2 separate regions of the Homo sapiens genome follow, and region 2 is linked to region 1. The links are contacts of gene promoters, found by promoter capture Hi-C in blood cells and fetal thymus (Javierre and others, 2016). All regions are on one chromosome and are shown on one strand. The core of a region is centred on a gene start or on the middle of the fragment in contact, and the rest is flanking DNA. Distances in the headings are between cores, read along the strand shown. Region 1 holds the start of C10orf126 (chromosome 10 open reading frame 126). Region 2 overlaps BAMBI (BMP and activin membrane bound inhibitor).

Region 1 (3,315 bases), core at 243-2,742:
ATGTATTGCCATCAAAGTGAGTGACTGTTTCTAGGAGGGTAGAGGTCAAGATGCCTGAAGGAGGAGAGAAGTTTAATGACCTATGATGGTGGAGTTTTGGAAAGATTATTATCTATGCATTGAACATGCTCAGAAAAGAGAGGAGAAGTATTGGGGAGGATGCCAATGGGCTGAGAACTGATGTTGTTGAAAAAGGTGGTGAACAATGTTGGGCAGGGGTATTACAGGACCAACATGTTTGTATGCCTGTTGTGCAGAAACAGACCAATACACCAAGACAGCAGGCTTTGCAGCAGAGAGAGGGTTTGATGACAGCAGGGAGGCCGAGTGAGCAGATGGGAGAAGACCCTCAAATCCATCTCCCCGAAGAGTTCTAGGCTGAGGTTTTCAAGGGGATTATGGGGGGTGAGGGGCTGAAAAACTATAGTCATTGATTGGTTGGGGAAAGGGGGATGAAATCATCAGGATGTAGAAACTGCATTCTTCAGTGAGTCAGCTTCTCGTGGGGTCCTTCAGACCAGCTGGCGTCAGTAGTTTCATCAGTATGCATGACCTACAAGAATATCTCAAATGGAAAGCAACATTTCACAATGTTCAGTTGTTATCTGTGGAGCAGTGAAGGGGGACTCTAATCTTGTGACAGGGTCTGTGTGATTCTGGAGCAATAGGTAGCAAAACACTATGAGGAAGGATCAGAGAACAGCTGACCCCATGACTAACACTGAGTATGTGCAAGCTTGGCTTATTTTTGTTTCTCTCCCTCCCTTCTCTTCTGATTAATTGTATAAAGTTTCTAGGGACAGTTTCAGGGGTGATAGATGATGATGGTACGAGATTTGCAGTAGAAGGGAAGGAGAAGGTTCTGGAAGGGGAAAAGAGGACCAGCAGGGTCCCTCCATCACCTCCAGGTCTGCAGGAGGTGGCAGGAGGGCCTGGAATGAAAAACAGCCAGTGGCTGGGCGCAGTGGCTCACGCCTGTAATCCCAGCACTTTGGGGGGCTGAGACGGGCAGATCACGAGGTCAAGAGATTGAGACCATCCTGGTCAACATGGTGAAACCCCGTCTCCACTAAAAATACAAAAATTAGCTGGGTGTGGTGGTGTGTGCCTGTAATCCCAGCTACTTGGGAGGCTGAGGTAGGAGAACCACTTGAACCCGGGAGGTGGAGGTTGCAGTGAGCTGAGACCGCACCACTGCACTCCAGCCTGGCTACAGAGGGAGACTCCATCTCAAAAAAAGAAAAAGAAAAACAGCCAGCGCATGAGAGAAGATGTGAGCATCGTCCTCAGGGAAGAGTCAGTTTTTGTCAGAACAAGGAGGGACTATTTGGAAGTTAGTTTGGGATGTGAGGCGTTTTGCTATTAGTGGATCAGGCTGATGGCACCGTGGAGGGGTTTCAGGAGTCAAGAACAGGTGGGAGAAAGTTTCCCAGTGCAGGTTGTGCAAGCCTCCTGGCCCGGAGAGTGTGGGTGTGACGAGTGGCTTGAGAGACAGGGATGAAGAGCATGAATGCGAATGTACAGCACTGAGCTCGCGTCTGCCACATGGTAAGCTCTTAGAAGACCTCAGCTTCTTATTCATTTTGTCACAAATCGATTAATTACTGAGCTGAAGGACATATTAGAAAACGGTCAATAGCAATACTTCTAACTTCCAATCTGTACTTACGCTTGGCATTCAATCGATGTTATCAAAACCTGTGCCAGCTCCAAGGAAGAGAGAACACTGTTTTCTGATTTAGTTGCTTCCTGAAAGGAGCTGAGAGCTGTAAAACACAGGCAAGATTGGACTTTTCAATAATGCTTATATATTGACTTGCAGAAACAATATTAGAACTTTTTTAAAATGCACACATTATCTCCTTAGGGTAAGGGAAAAGGTTTTACCTTTTTATTTTTGCATCTCCCCTTTGAGTGAACATCATTCTTTTTTCTTTAACTCACAACTTTACAAGGTATTTGGAGAAATATAAGGGAGAGATAGTTTCTGTTTCTCACCTCTTTAAGCAATGTCCTCTTGTATACCAAATAATATCTTCCTGTGGTTAATGATATGAGAAACAGAATGCCTCTCCAGAAACCTTTTCACATCCCAGATTCAGAGTTCCTGAGGCCAGAATCTGATCTGACATATTTTACTACTTAGGTAAATCCTTAATCTCAAGAGTGATGAGAGTGAAGTCTTTTTATGTTTGTTTTTTAGAGATGGGCCTCTTTCTGTCGCCCAGGCTGGAGTGCAATGGTGTGATCATAGCTCACTGCAGCCTCAACCTCCTGAGCTCAAATAGTCCTCCTGCCTCAGCTTCCTGAGTTGCGACTACAGCCATGAACCACTGCATCCAGTTCAGGTTTTTTGTTTGTTTGTTGTTTTCCTTAAAAAACACTAGTGATTCTATTTTGATTCTGACAACTTTCATAAGGTCCAGGGACAAAATAAATGTGTTATCTCTTGGGAGGAGATGGATTTATAAGCCCATGGGCACCATTCAGAGGCCATATGCCCTGGAAGCACTGAGGAATGTGCTCAAAGCAAACCCTTGGGTCATCCTTGACTCTTCTTTTGCTCTCACATCCACATCCAATCTATGAGGAAATTAACTTAGCTCAGGTAGTTTAAAAATCCATCTGAATGTTGCGGCCAGGCATGGTGGCTCATGCCTGGAGTCCCAACTACTCAGGAGGTTGAGGCGGGAGGATTGCTTGAGCGCAGGAGCTCGAGGCTGCAGTGAGCTATGATCATGCCACTGCACTCCAGCCTGGGCAACAGAGCAAGGCTCAGGCTGGTCTTGAACTCCTGGCCTTTAGTGATCCTCTTGCCTTGTCCTCCCAAAGTGTTGGGATTACAGGCACGGGCCACTGAGCCCTGCCTAAAACGTTCAATGTCAGTGACTTGGAAGAATGTTCTGGTGGACGGGAAAGCCCCGGATGGAGAGAGGATTCAGGCATTTGAGAGGTCAGAGAGAAGCAAGGTATCCAAGGACAATGGAATTGGCTGCTTGTTGCTCAATTGAATTGAGGCTCTACATTAGGATAATGAAAAGCTGTAGGCAGTTAGGGAGCAATTGAAAGCCACTTGTGAAGGCCTGAGGGCCTCCAGGAATGGGGCCCATATTCACTCCATTCAGTGTAGAAAAAGCAGAAGACCAAACTATGGATTTAATAGGCTTGCCTAGCTTCAAAGATGATTATCATTACACAAAGATCAGAGCACTGGTTGGGAAAACATGGAGCTCTTGTGCACGGGATGGGGACATTTGGGTGGATGCCTCCAAATATTTTGAGCTCTCAAACTCTTCTAAGCCCTCAGAGCCTGCA
Region 2 (3,315 bases), core at 239-2,738, 160 kb before region 1:
CTGTCTGACCTGTGATAAAATGAGACAAGCAGACCTCAGCAACGATAAGATCCTCTCGCTTGTTCACTGGGGCATGTACAGTGGGCACGGGAAGCTGGAATTCGTATGACGGAGTCTTATCTGAACTACACTTACTGAACAGCTTGAAGGCCTTTTGAGTTCTGCTGGACAGGAGCACTTTATCTGAAGACAAACTCATTTAATCATCTTTGAGAGACAAAATGACCTCTGCAAACAGAATCTTGGATATTTCTTCTGAAGGATTATTTGCACAGACTTAAATACAGTTAAATGTGTTATTTGCTTTTAAAATTATAAAAAGCAAAGAGAAGACTTTGTACACACTGTCACCAGGGTTATTTGCATCCAAGGGAGCTGGAATTGAGTACCTAAATAAACAAAAATGTGCCCTATGTAAGCTTCTACATCTTGATTTATTGTAAAGATTTAAAAGAAATATATATATTTTGTCTGAAATTTAATAGTGTCTTTCATAAATTTAACTGGGAAACGTGAGACAGTACATGTTAATTATACAAATGGCCATTTGCTGTTAATAATTTGTTCTCAACTCTAGGATGTGGCTTGGTTTTTTTTTTTCTCTTTTCTTTTTTAAACAAGACCAAGATCTTGCTTATTCTTCCATGTGCCTGTGTAATTTTCTTACAGTGTGGAGTTTCTAAATGTATACTGACCATCTTTTAGTGTCTTACCCACATTCTGGCTATAGGATAACTCTGGTTTTAGCTTTCATCTAAGAAGGAGATCTGGAATTTATGTGTACCAGGTCAGATATGATTGATCAATTTCTGGAGTTGACCTAGCAAAGGTCATTTTGATCCAGGTGTTCCGGAATACCTTTTCCAATGTGTATACCTCCACCCAAAAAAGAAAAAAAAACCAACTAAACAACTGTTTTTTTGTTCAAGTCAGTCACTGTCTCCTTTTACTGTTGATTAATTGGCCAGTTTATTTTGTCCTAAGCCAAATTAAGTATTTTGGCTCCCCAATTAGCCAAACCTTACTGTACAACACACTTAATTTTAAACCTTGTGCTTCAACAGTGTGATGCTTTTTTTTTTTTTAATACTTAGAAAGCTTTTCTGTAGTGAACACGATACACCAATTGATTTAAATAACTGCTACTAGGTTTCATCCTCCCAAATGATCCTTTATGTAACCAAATAGAACATTGGCTTTAGCCAGTAACTAATACAGCTAGGAAACAATGTTTCCTCTTATAAGACTTTTTGTCCTGATAACATTGCCCATCCTGAATTTAAACGTATGCTTTATTTGTGTACTTCCCGTGCCCCCAGTGGATCTTTCTTATTTTAAATGTGAGAATATTATGCCATGGAGGGTATCTTCTGAATTCCTTTGTATATGTGAAATTTTTGCTTAAAAGTTAACCCGTAGGCCGGGCGCGGTGGCTCACACCTGTAATCCTAGCACTTTGGGAGGCCGAGGCAGGTGGATCACAAGGTAAGGAGTTCAAGACCAGCCTGGCCAACATAGTGAAACCCTGTCTCTACTAAAAATGCAAAAATTAGCTGGGCGTGGTGGCGTGCATCTGTAGTCCCAGCTACTCGGGAGGCTGAGGCAGGAGAATTGCTTGAACCCAGGAGGCAGAGGTTGTAAGCTGAGATTGTGCCACTGCACTCCAGCCTGGGCAACAGAGGGAGACTCCATCTCAAAAAAAAAAAATTACAGCCTGCATATTCGAGTATGGGGTTTTCTTTTATTAATATTAATAGACCACCTGCCCCAAAAAACTAAGCTGTGGAATAAACACATATTAATAAATGATAGCATTCGTACTGTCCCTTTTAAGATGAGCAGCTCTTGCATGCATGCCTTATATTTTATAAAAGATGTTAAGCTTTATGTATGTCAGTTTTTGAGGAAGCCAAAGAATTGTTGAACCCAACCCTTCAAACCTGTCAAGGGAATTGATCAAAGTTGTCTGTTGGTGAAATTTCCACCCTCACCTCCACCTCTGGCTCTTTGAGTCTCACTCTGTCGCCCGGGCTGGAGTCCGGTGGCGCCATATGTATCACTACAACCTCCACCCCACTCGCCACACACCACACGTGGTGCACACCACCCTGCCCCCTGCCCCGCCGCGGGTTCAAGCGATTCTCCTGCCTCAGCCTCTGAAGCAGCTGGGATTACAGCCACCCACCACCATGCCTGGCTAATTTCTGTATTTTTAGTAGAGACAGGGTTTTCACCATGTTGGCCAGGCTGGTCCCAAACTCCTGACCTCAAGTGATCCTCCTGCCTCAGCCTCCTAAAGTGCTGGGATTAAGGTGTGAGCCACTCTGCCCAACCCCACTCTGGCTCTTGATCACATTATAGTAGATTGTAGTTTAGAGATGAAAGGACTTCTTGCTCCTTGTACATTCTCATTTCATGTACGACATTATGCAAGCTCAGCAATTCTTCAAGTGGCCAGTTTTTATATCTGTTACGTAGTCAGAGTTTCTTTTCTCTGCTTGCCCTGATGAGGGCCGGTTCACCTCATTTTTTCCAAGTACAGGTTAACCAGGAACTCTGCAATTCTTTAGGAAATAAAACAATGAAGGATTTAAAGTCATGTGCTTTGAAACACTTTGAAATCAGTGAACCCCTTCCTCCCAGAGAGGCCTATGTCTGGACTGGTGTTACCACAAACTTCATGGAGGATGCATGCAGCCTCTCCACTTGATCTTGGGCCTTTGTTCTTCCTATTGTATATTCACGAGGCTATTTACAGCTCCCTGTACTGTGGGGAGGTGGCACTGTGCCCATGGCCTCTCAGTTTTCTGGGGCTCCGCTTCTAGCCACATAATAGGCCAGCCCTGCCTCTTTTCCTAAAAAAATCCTCTCTCTTGATATTCATTTAGTTTTTACACGTGTCCTCACCACCAATCTGAAAGTCAGATCCGCCTTCTTATGAAAATACTGCAGGCACCTCAACTTTGGATGTAACTAAGAACTACATATAGATTTTACTTTTGCTTCCCTGTGAGAGTGCAGAAGTTGCCAGGAGCCAGAGATTAAGGACTAAGATAAGGTCCAGGGTCTACCTGATTCAGTGATGTCAGAAGTGGTGGTGACTGGTTTATTTGTTTTTCCGTCTTAGAGATGTTTACTGTTACTCTGAGGTGTCACAAGGCCAGGCTAACCAGGAACAACCCTTGCTTAATATTGTCATAGAACTCCCCCCAAAAGGAATTTTCCTTTCTGAGTGGAAATTTGCCCAAACTAGAGACATGGGACCAAATTTGCCAAGATGATTTTCTATCTACAACTCCTTACATTCTACCACTG

Evidence for each region. The method cuts DNA at HindIII sites, captures the fragments that hold promoters and counts their contacts. A CHiCAGO score of 5 or more calls a contact.
Region 2: a fragment that was not itself captured here is called in contact with the fragment with the promoter of C10orf126 in region 1 in 1 of 17 cell types (megakaryocytes); the score reaches 6.3 in megakaryocytes.

What each region holds. Positions count from the first base shown.
Region 1 is chr10:28,844,916-28,848,230 of GRCh38, forward strand. C10orf126 (chromosome 10 open reading frame 126) reads left to right here and starts at 1,493. Exons shown (of 5, transcript NR_164114.1): 1 at 1,493-1,548; 2 at 2,204-2,348; 3 at 3,301-3,315. The HindIII fragment of the contact is 7,202 bases long and covers 735-3,315 here.
Region 2 is chr10:28,682,293-28,685,607 of GRCh38, forward strand. BAMBI (BMP and activin membrane bound inhibitor) reads left to right here. Exons shown (of 3, transcript NM_012342.3): 3 at 1-640. The coding sequence ends at 109. Among named protein-coding and RNA genes, the nearest start is that of BAMBI, 6.4 kb to the left of the region's middle. RefSeq lists an enhancer at 1,583-2,491. The HindIII fragment of the contact is 784 bases long and covers 1,097-1,880 here.